Linked DNA regions of Homo sapiens: all the other regions are linked to region 2. The links are contacts of gene promoters, found by promoter capture Hi-C in human tissues and cell types (Jung and others, 2019). All regions are on one chromosome and are shown on one strand. Each heading gives the region's core, a stretch centred on a gene start or on the middle of the fragment in contact. The rest is flanking DNA. Distances are from core to core; before and after follow the strand shown.

The links. The method cuts DNA at HindIII sites, captures the fragments that hold promoters and counts their contacts. A contact is called where the count stands out against the background at its distance.
Region 1: a fragment that was not itself captured here is called in contact with the fragment with the promoter of LUZP1 in region 2 in 3 of the 25 tissues and cell types used here (dorsolateral prefrontal cortex, spleen and thymus).
Region 3: a contact is called between a fragment that was not itself captured here and the fragment with the promoter of LUZP1 in region 2, in 1 of the 25 tissues and cell types used here (psoas muscle).

Annotation. Positions count from the first base shown.
Region 1 is chr1:23,030,980-23,033,898 of GRCh38, reverse strand. All of the region lies in intron 2 of KDM1A (lysine demethylase 1A), which reads right to left. Among named protein-coding and RNA genes, the nearest start is that of MIR3115, 12 kb to the left of the region's middle. RefSeq lists an enhancer at 671-720. The HindIII fragment of the contact is 3,399 bases long and covers 1-2,919 here.
Region 2 is chr1:23,167,071-23,170,258 of GRCh38, reverse strand. It overlaps LUZP1 (leucine zipper protein 1), which reads left to right and starts at 1,403. Exons shown (of 4, transcript NM_001395462.2): 1 at 1,403-1,493. RefSeq lists enhancers at 509-558, 1,634-2,165, 2,166-2,697 and silencers at 1,204-1,263, 2,255-2,394. The HindIII fragment of the contact is 15,099 bases long and covers 1-1,611 here.
Region 3 is chr1:23,385,466-23,388,545 of GRCh38, reverse strand. TCEA3 (transcription elongation factor A3) reads left to right here. Exons shown (of 11, transcript NM_003196.3): 9 at 1,127-1,273. Among named protein-coding and RNA genes, the nearest start is that of ZNF436, 17 kb to the right of the region's middle. The HindIII fragment of the contact is 6,654 bases long and covers 1-3,080 here.

The sequences.
Region 1 (2,919 bases), core at 420-2,919, 140 kb after region 2:
CGCTTAGCATGAGATTGGTCTTTCCAAAAACATATTTCAGTGTAACCCCCCTTGCTCAAAAAACCTCAGGGCTACCGCTGACACTCCTAATGCTCAAATTCCTTAGCCTGGCTTAGTCAACCAAGGCTATTCACAATATGGCTCCCACCATTCTGGCTTCCTCTCAGTACTCTCCCAGAGGAACCTTATTCAGTCAATTTGACCCACTGACTTCAGAATACCTTGTGCTTTCATAATTAACAAAATATTTACTTCCTGTTAAGATTAACACACTGCAGAAAGCAAAGCAAAAATTTCTAAACAAATTTAAAAGTTGGTAAGAATGAAATGTATGCAAACCTTACTTTTTTGTTTTGTTTTGTTTTTTGGATTTTTTTTTAAGGCGGAGTCTTGCTCTCACAAAGACTGGAGTGCAGTGGCACAATCTCAGATCACTGCAACCTCTGCCTCCCGGGTTCAAGCAATTCTCCTGCCTCAGCCTCCCAAGTAGCTGGGATTACAGGCACGTGCCACTACACCTGGCTAATTTTTCTATTTTTAGTAGAGACAGAGTTTCACTATGTTGGCCATGCTGGTCTCGAACTCCTGACCTCAGGTGATCCGCTTGCCTCAGCCTCTCAAAGTGCTGGGAGCCACCGCGCCTGGCCCTAACCTATATTTTTTGACAGAATAATTTCTAGTGATTGCCTTTTAAAAAGACTGAGAACAAGAAAAGGTTTGGTAGAGAAACAAACCCACAGGCCAGGCATGGTGGCTCATGCCTGTAATCCCAGCACTTTGGGAGGCCAAGGTGGGCCAACATGGTGAAACCCTGTCTCTACTAAAAATGCAAAAATTAGCTGGGCGTGGTGACGCACATCTGTAATCAGCTACTCAGGGGGCTGAGGCAGGAGAATTGCTTAACCCGGGAGGCAGGGGTTGCAGTGAGCCGAGATCATGCCACTGCACTCCAGCCTGGGCGACAGAGCGAGACTCCGTCTCCAAAAATATCAAAACGAAACAAACCTATATCTTCTCTCAAGCTTTTAATATAGTCATATAGCAATGCTTCCGTTCAATTTTTGACTAAAAACTCTTGTGAAAGACAAAAGACTTAGAAACCCTGCACAGTGTCCAAATATTTAACTCACCTGATAATATTTTATGATTCACCATCAGGGTCCAATCTATTGCTAAACTACATAAGTAGTTTAGGCTAGTAAGTTGACACTTTTTTCTAGGGAAAGTACATCCCTAATTCACCCCAGAAATTTTCAAAAAAAACATTAAGTTGTTTTAAAGGAAGAATCACTATTTTCATAACCACAAATAATATATTAGTAAGTTCTGGCTGTTATCAGCACATTTCTAAGCATTGAAGATATCCTCAACTTAAAATTTTAACGTCCCCCCAAAAACAAAGATAACTTAAACTAAACCACTGCATTATAATTAACTACAACACAATAAAGACAGCTCCCAAATCCTAAATCCTTTTGCTAAGACGTTTACTTTTTGTGGGAACAATACCTGACGTTTATGAAATTAAAAAAAAAAAAAAGCTTTCAGAAAAAAGCAAACAGCAACACCAACACATGGTTTAAAATTTTCAAAGAAACGTTTATCAACTTGGAACCTATGGTAAATCAATTATTTACTGGAGACACAACCACACAAAAAAGGTGAGGCAGCATCTGAGATATCAGATCATCAATGCGTAGTACTTAGAGCCCTTGAACTAAGAAGTCAGCCCACTCTTGAGCCACCGCAGACATTAAAAGGGTTATCCCCAAGTATCTCATTAGCAGGTCTACAGCAAAGGTAGAAGAAAGGTAAGAACCAAAAAGAACACAGAAGAAAAGAGCACAGGGTGAAGGGAAAGGTTGGAGGTAAGAACAGAAGGAAGAGAGCTAAATGTATAAGACTAGAAAGAGGAAGAAGAAAAATGAATAACGAGAGGTGTAAAGTAAAAAGGCAGCTACATTTGCCTGGGACATTAGCCCCAAAGGTAATATACTACTGAAACTAGAAACCTTCAAACAAGGAGTTGCCCAAGAAATCATTTTAAGAAAGTTTTAGGAAAACCACTCTTCTTAGAAAATCCCTGACTTTTGAATGAACTGAAACCAGAATCTTTTTCTGAATGTTCTCAAACTGTATTCCTTTAGTACACTTTATTACAATCCTATAAATTATAAATTTGATTTTTAAGTTTTAGCCAGACTTTGATAAGCTCCAAACCTAAGTTAACACTTGACTGGTAATGCCCTAAAGTGAAGCATCAGTACTGCTTCTGGTAATTCACAGTAACACCATAGGGGAGAAAACCCTTAAAAAAAAAAGGCTAAAACAAAAGATAAAACATCTCAAATGAAGTATGTCTTAATCTGGGTACCTACGAAAGTCATGCAAGATATAGCAGATGGGGTCTGAAACCACCATTTTGTTTTTAAAAGGTACAGGACTAAAAGAACCAGAGAGGTGTGTGGGTCTGAAGCTATTCGAAACATAAAAATTATTTCAAGAAGAGGAACTTAGTAAAAATTCAAAGTCAAAAAGAGTAAATAAAATGTCATTAAGGGCACAAGATACAAAAATTCATTAAAATACTGCTTTTGCTTGGTCTCTCCAAAACAGAAAGGCAGATATCCCTGATTGGTCCAGCCATCCTCAGAAAGCTAGTACTCAGCATTGAGGGGATGTTAGTGAGAATTCTTTAAAGCTGTTTGAAGCTCTGAAACCAAAACTATAGACTCCCATAATCTTTCTAGATTTTCTGGCCTATATATATTTTTACATTTGTTCACCAGGAAAAGGCACTTCTCAAAACCGATCCACACCGTGGAAGTTTTATCAGAAAGTATCTAACTACGTGGTAAACACATCATTTAGCCAGAACAATTTCTGAATCAGAACTGTCATTGAGAGGTCTGGTGCTTT
Region 2 (3,188 bases), core at 154-2,653:
TCAGAGCTTGAGCTCCACAAACATGTGTGGGTTCTGACCTCCAGGAAGTGCTAAGAAACAAATGGGAGGTCAGTTCTTTATAAGTTGTAGTGTTCATGCCCACGTGAGGGTTAAACACAATGTTATTGGTTATTCAGAACAGGGAGGATTGCTTTCTGGCTGGGAGAAGCTGGGAGGTGAGACAGCAGGGGAAGAGCTTCAGCAAAGGGTCAAATGTGGGAAAGCAGTGGGTGTGCTAAGAGAAGTTTGGATAAACTTTGTGTGTGTGTGTGTGTGTGTGTGTGTGTAAAGGTAGGAAGTGATCATACCAGGCCAGGGCTTTGGCCTTTATTCCATAGGCAATAAAGAGCTTACACAAGAGATGTCTCAAGAGACCAACCATGCTGCTGTAGTCAGAGAGGAAGCAGCCCTCAGCCCATCTGTGTCCTGGCTTGTGAATGCTGCTGCGTGCCAGCGTGTGGGAGGGCATCCGCAGCGAGAGCAGTCTCTGGCTGTGTCCTGTACTATGCTGGGTGTGGGTCTTGGGCTGTCTTTGAAGCCTTCCTCCTGGCTTCTCAGGGCACTAGGTGCCTTTTAGATAGTAGACTTAAAGGAAGTATGTCATAGAAGTATGGGAGGGGATTTTGAGATCATCTGGTTATTCCCCCTTCCCATTTTAAAGAAGATGAAAATCGGGAACATAGATGGGAAAGTACTTGTCTAGCATCACACAAAGAATTAATAGCACAGTGGGGGACGGGAACCCATGCCTCCCGAGTCTGAGCTGAGTTCCTTCTCTGCATTTGCAGAGTAATAGAAATAGGATTTGTTGAGTGATTATTCCATATCAGGTTCTAGGCTAAGCACCTTTCCATTGATTATCTCATTTAATCCTCACAACCCTACTGAGAGTGTCCCGCTTTTTTCTTTTTCTTTTGAGACAGGGTCTCACTCTGTCACCCACGCCGGAGTGCAGTGGCACGATCACGGCTCACTGCAGCCTCGACCTCCCTCGGCTCAAGCGATCCTCCTACTTTAGCTTACCGGCGGGCGCCACCACTCCCGGCTAATTTTTGTATTTTTTATAGAGATGGGGTTTCGCCATGTTGCCCAGGCTGGTCTCGAACTTCTGAGTTTAAGCGATCCGTCCGCCTCAGCCTCCCAAAGTTCTGGGATTACAGACTTGAGCCACCACGCGGGCCGAAAGTGTCCCTCCTGAAATCGAGAAGTCTTGTCTTCCATTTCGATTTCCCAGGGCGCCTAGCACAGGACCCAGCTACGGAGGCAATAAAAACTTGGTGGAGTCTAAGTCCTGGGAAGGGAAAAAAAGGACGGAGGGGGCGGGGCCTACAGACAACCCCGCCCATCACAAAGACCCCGCCTTCCAGAACGCTGACGTCACAATTTGGCCCCGCCCCTCATTGTCAGTCCCGCGGAGCCAGAGGAGGCGCCGGTCGCTGGCAGCTGAGCGGCGGAACCCTTCGCTGGCGGGAGCGCGGTTCGGGGCCGCAGAGGTGAGGGTCCGTGAGGCGGCGGCGGCGGGAGCGCGGCGCGGGGAGGGGAGGGCGGCGGGGTTGGGAGGCCGGTCCCGGGTGAGGTCGGGGCACCCGCGGCCACGGGGCAGAAGAAACCGCGGGCGCAGCCGAGGAGAGATGGGGTGTGGAGTTGGGGGAGAGTTGGAATGGATTTTGGAGGAAGGGCTCAGGAGGAGACCTTTTGGGGCGAGACCCAGCACATGTTTGTGGAGTTGGAGGAAGAGACTCTGAGGAGATTTTTCCTCGGGAGGGGGAGGGAAGGTTCTGAGGAGACTTCTTGGTGGGAGCGAGACTCTGAGGAGAAATGTTTGGGGCAGAGACGCGGAGGAGACATTTTCGAGGGGGCGGCGAAGAGTTTCGGGGGTAGAGTTTGGGGTTGGGGGAGGGGGCGCGGGCCGACAGGGGCGGGGGGCGACGAGGCGGCCGTGGAGGGGGCTGCGCGGGGCCCGGCGGGCACCGGAGGAAGGAAGTGATCAGACAGGAAGGGCCCGGGAGCTGCAGCAGCAGGAGGAGGAGGGCGGTTTGGGAGCGCGTCGGGCCGGCGTGCGGGGCCAGCTGCGGGCGCGGGGCGCGGGCCGCGGGCCGGGCGGGGAGGGGTCCCGCGGCCGCCGCAGCTGTCGGCCGCGCCGGCCCGCGTCCCGGGCGCTCTGCTGGTCTCGCAGCCAGACCGCTGGGCCGGGAAGGAATTCGAGGCATTCGCTTTGTTTAAGTTGCCAGTAGACAGTCCTTAGGACTAATTAATGGTGGAATCTGCAGGGGGACGCCGGCGAGCGGGGCCGGGGCCTCCCCCCGCCCGCCGCGGTGAACTTTCCGCAGCGCGGGGCCCGCCTCCCGGCGCACCCCCGGCCCCCGCCCAGCCGCCCGGGCAGGGAAGGAGCCATGGCTTCCCGGAGCGCAGGAATGAAGTGCGGTTTCTGGGGCTGGTGGCCTCTGGCTGCGGAGCCTGCCTGCAGGGAACCTGGCGACCCGCAGCGGCCGCGCTGGGGCTTCGGAGCCCGGTTTAGAGCTCTTGGAGGTGGCTGCGGTTTCTGTGCATAACCTTGGAGGAGCCTCTGTGAGCCGAGAAAGACCATCTTGCTTTGGAGCATCTGTTTCTTCATCGCGTCAACCCCTTTCCTAACACTGCAGAGCTTGTTGTGGCTTGTTTCGGGAATGCCGAGGCCAGTGCTCACCCTTGCGGGTGGGAGAGGGGAAGAGAGTAGGCACCCCCAAAACCCCTGTAGTGTGATTTCCAGAAGGCCAGACTGCCTGCAGCTCCACCGTCGCACCTTCACTGACTTGAATGACCTTGGGAGAAGGATTGCGCTGCTGAGCCCTTGGTGCCTTATCTGTCGTTGGAGGAGAAAATACTCTCTGGACCTCCCTGCCTTTTGGGGATGTTTTGAGGGGTGGGGTTTGCTCAGGGTATTTCTTTTACAGACGGCTGCAGTTCTGGCCTAAGGAGCTGGACTGGTGTCAGAGCCGGGAGAATTCAGATCACCTAATAAGATTTGACTACCTCAAATTAGGGAGGGAGGGGTTTGGATTTTAGGAGGACATTTCTTTTTGGGGAATCTGGAAGGTGTGTTCCAGATTGCCTTCTGTCACCTTGTTTGCAACTTTGGTAGTATTCATGTGGTTAAATTGAATTACCCCCATAGAAAATTCTTCTTTTGTCAGAAATAATTGTTTTGC
Region 3 (3,080 bases), core at 399-2,898, 220 kb before region 2:
TTCTCCATGGTTTAAGGACTCAGGACAGACAGCAACAATTAAAATGTTTAAGCCAGGCATAGTGGTTCATACCTGTAATCCCAGCACTTTGGAAGGATGAGGTGGGTGGATCACAAGGTCAGGAGATCGAGACCATCCTGGCCAATATGGTGAAACCCCGTCTCTACTAAAAATACAAAAATTAGCTGGGTGTGGTGGCATGAGCCTGTAGTCCCAGCTACTCGGGAGGCTGAGGCAGGAGAATCGCTTGAACCCAGGAGGTGGAGGTTGCAGTGAGCCGAGATCGCACCACTGCACTTCAGCCTGGTGACAGAGCGAGACTCCATCTCAAAAAAAAAAAAAAAAAGTTTAAAATCCTCATTTTGAGATTCGCGTCAGCCACCCTCCTTCCCCTTCCACCAACCCTTAACTGGAGCTCCCTCTCTGCTGTCCTCTGGCAGAGGCTTAAGGGGAGACAAGTGGCCAGGGAGATGGACAGAGAAAGCAAAGGTGTGGGTGATGCAGACCCGGAGTGTCTACTGTGAGCTGGTGGGAGACTGGAGACTCTTCTGTAGAAACTCTCAGAAAAAGATGATCTTGGATGCATGCTCATCAGATGAACAGTTAGTTGTGTGAGCCCAGGAGCTTCAGGATGGGGGTAGCAGCAGCAAGTCATGGGTAGTTGCGCCAAGGTTCCCACTAAGCAGAACAGCAGGGCAGTGATCACAGCGTAAAAGAGCACTGGGTCAAGTCTAGAGAGGAAGGCTAAGGGGAACATCATAGACCAGGTGGCAGTGATCAAGTCAGCTCAAGCAGGAAGGTTCAGGCCAAGGCCAAGGTCCTGGCAGGCAGGATGAGCCCCAGATCTGAAGAAATGTACACAGGAGTGCTCGTCCTCGGGCAGAGGCTGTTTGCCTGCTGCTCACCTGAATGTGCATTATGACCTTCCAGCCGTGGGCGGCAGGAGGACTCTGCGGGGACAGCTTTCTCCCAGCTGGGGCAGGACCCGGAATCCAGGCCTCCTTCCAGCTCCTTGCAGTCAATAAAGCATGTTACCTCCTTTTCTGTTCAGGCTTTCTAGAAACCGGGTGTAGGGCAGGGCCCCTGAAACTCCTCAGCCCTGAAGGGTAGACTCTTTTTTCTCCAGGAAATGGCCAGTGATGAACTGAGGGAGTTGAGGAATGCCATGACCCAGGAGGCCATCCGTGAGCACCAGATGGCCAAGACTGGCGGCACCACCACTGACCTCTTCCAGTGCAGCAAATGCAAGAAGAAGAACTGCACCTATAACCAGGTAAGGACAGTGAGGGGACGGGCCGGAGGTGCAGGAGGCCGCAGGGGCATAGAGGTGGAAAATCAGAGAGAAGCTTAGGGAAGAGCCAGAGGGGAGAAAGCGTTAAAACTCTCTAGGCTTTGCCGGGTGCGGTGGCTCATGTCTGTAATCACAGCACTTTGGGAGGCCAAGGCGAGTGGATCACCTGAGGCCAGGAGTTTGAGACCAGCCTGGCCAACACAGTGAAACCCCATCTCTACTAAAAATACAAAAATGCCGGGCGCGGTGGCTCACGCCTATAATCCCAGCACTTTGGGAGGCCAAGACGGGCGGATCACGAGGTCAGGAGATTGAGACCATCCTGGCAAACACGGTGAAACCCCGTCTCTGCTAAAAATTCAAAAAATTAGCAGGGTGTGGTGGCGGGCACCTGTAGTCCCAGCTACTCAGGAGGCTGAGGCAGGAGAATGGCGTGAACCCGGGAGGTGGAGCTTGCAGTGAACCGAGATCATGCCACTGCACTCCAGCTTGGGCGACAGAGTGAGACTCCATCTGAAAGAAAAAAAAAATTAGCCAGGCATGGTGGCACGTGCCTGTAATCCCAGCTACCCTGGAGGCTGAGGCAGGAGAATCACTGGAACCTGGGAGGTGGAGGCTGCAGTGAGCCGAGATTGCACCACTGTACTCCAGCCTGGGCGACAGAGGGAGACTCTGTCTCAAACCAAACAAACAACAAAAAGAAAACCTCTCTAGGCTGGGCCAGCTCAGTGGCTCACGCCTGTAATCCCAGCACTTTGGGAGGCCGAGGCAGGCAGATTGCTTGAGCCTAGGAGTTTGAGAGCAGCCTGGGCAACGTGGTGAAACGTCATCTCTGCTAAAAATACAAAAATTAGCCAGGCTTGGTAGTGTGTGCCTGTAGTCCCAGCTACTGGATGCGGGGGAAATGGGTGGCGATGAGGCAGGAGAATCACTGGAGCCCAGGAGGTTGAGGCTACAGTGAATTGAGGCTGCAATGAGCTATGATTGCACCACTGCACTCCAGCCTGGGTGACAGAATGAGACCCTGACTCAACAAAACAAAGAAAACCTTAAAAACTCTCCAGGCTGCAGAGAGAAGGGCAAGCCTTGGTACACTAATGTGGTGCACCTGTGGCTTCTAGACAATGTTCCTCTGAGTTTAGAATCATCCCTGCTATGTGTCTACGAGGCTTGGTCAGTGTGTTCTGGTCTGCCCTGACGTGACAATAAGAAGAATCAGACTCATGGCGGCTGAAGAGTCATAGACAGTTGGAAGGGAACTTGGCAATGTGAAACCCAGCTCCCTCATTACACACCCAGGGAAACTGAGGCCCACACAGGCCACAGATGGGCTTTTTAGCCTTGCCCAAGAAAGGAGGCCAATGTCAGAGGTAGTAATAAACAAGATCCACACCATTCTGCCTGCAATCCAGCTAACTTGGTCAATAAAGCCTAAGGGCTTTAGCTCTGAGTCCTAAAGTTGAAGACCATTGCCCTGGCATGGGGAACTTGGGAAGGCTGTGGAGGCCCCTTCTCTTAAAACCAGAGAATGGCCTCCTCTTTCTGGGTTGCACATGGTATGCCCTTAGAGCACAAATATCCTTGGATTCTAACTGGTGTCTAGTCATTCTAGAACTCTATTCAGAGTTCTCCGTCTGTTCGGCACACACCATTTATCAAGAGCACCTTGCCTGCGGCATTCTGTGGCCAGGGCAGAAATGCAGTCAGCCTTGCCATTCCGGAGGAGTCCCTTGGAGAATTCCAGTTCTGGAATCCGGAGATGTTTGTGCAAGCTTCTGCTCTCTCCCAA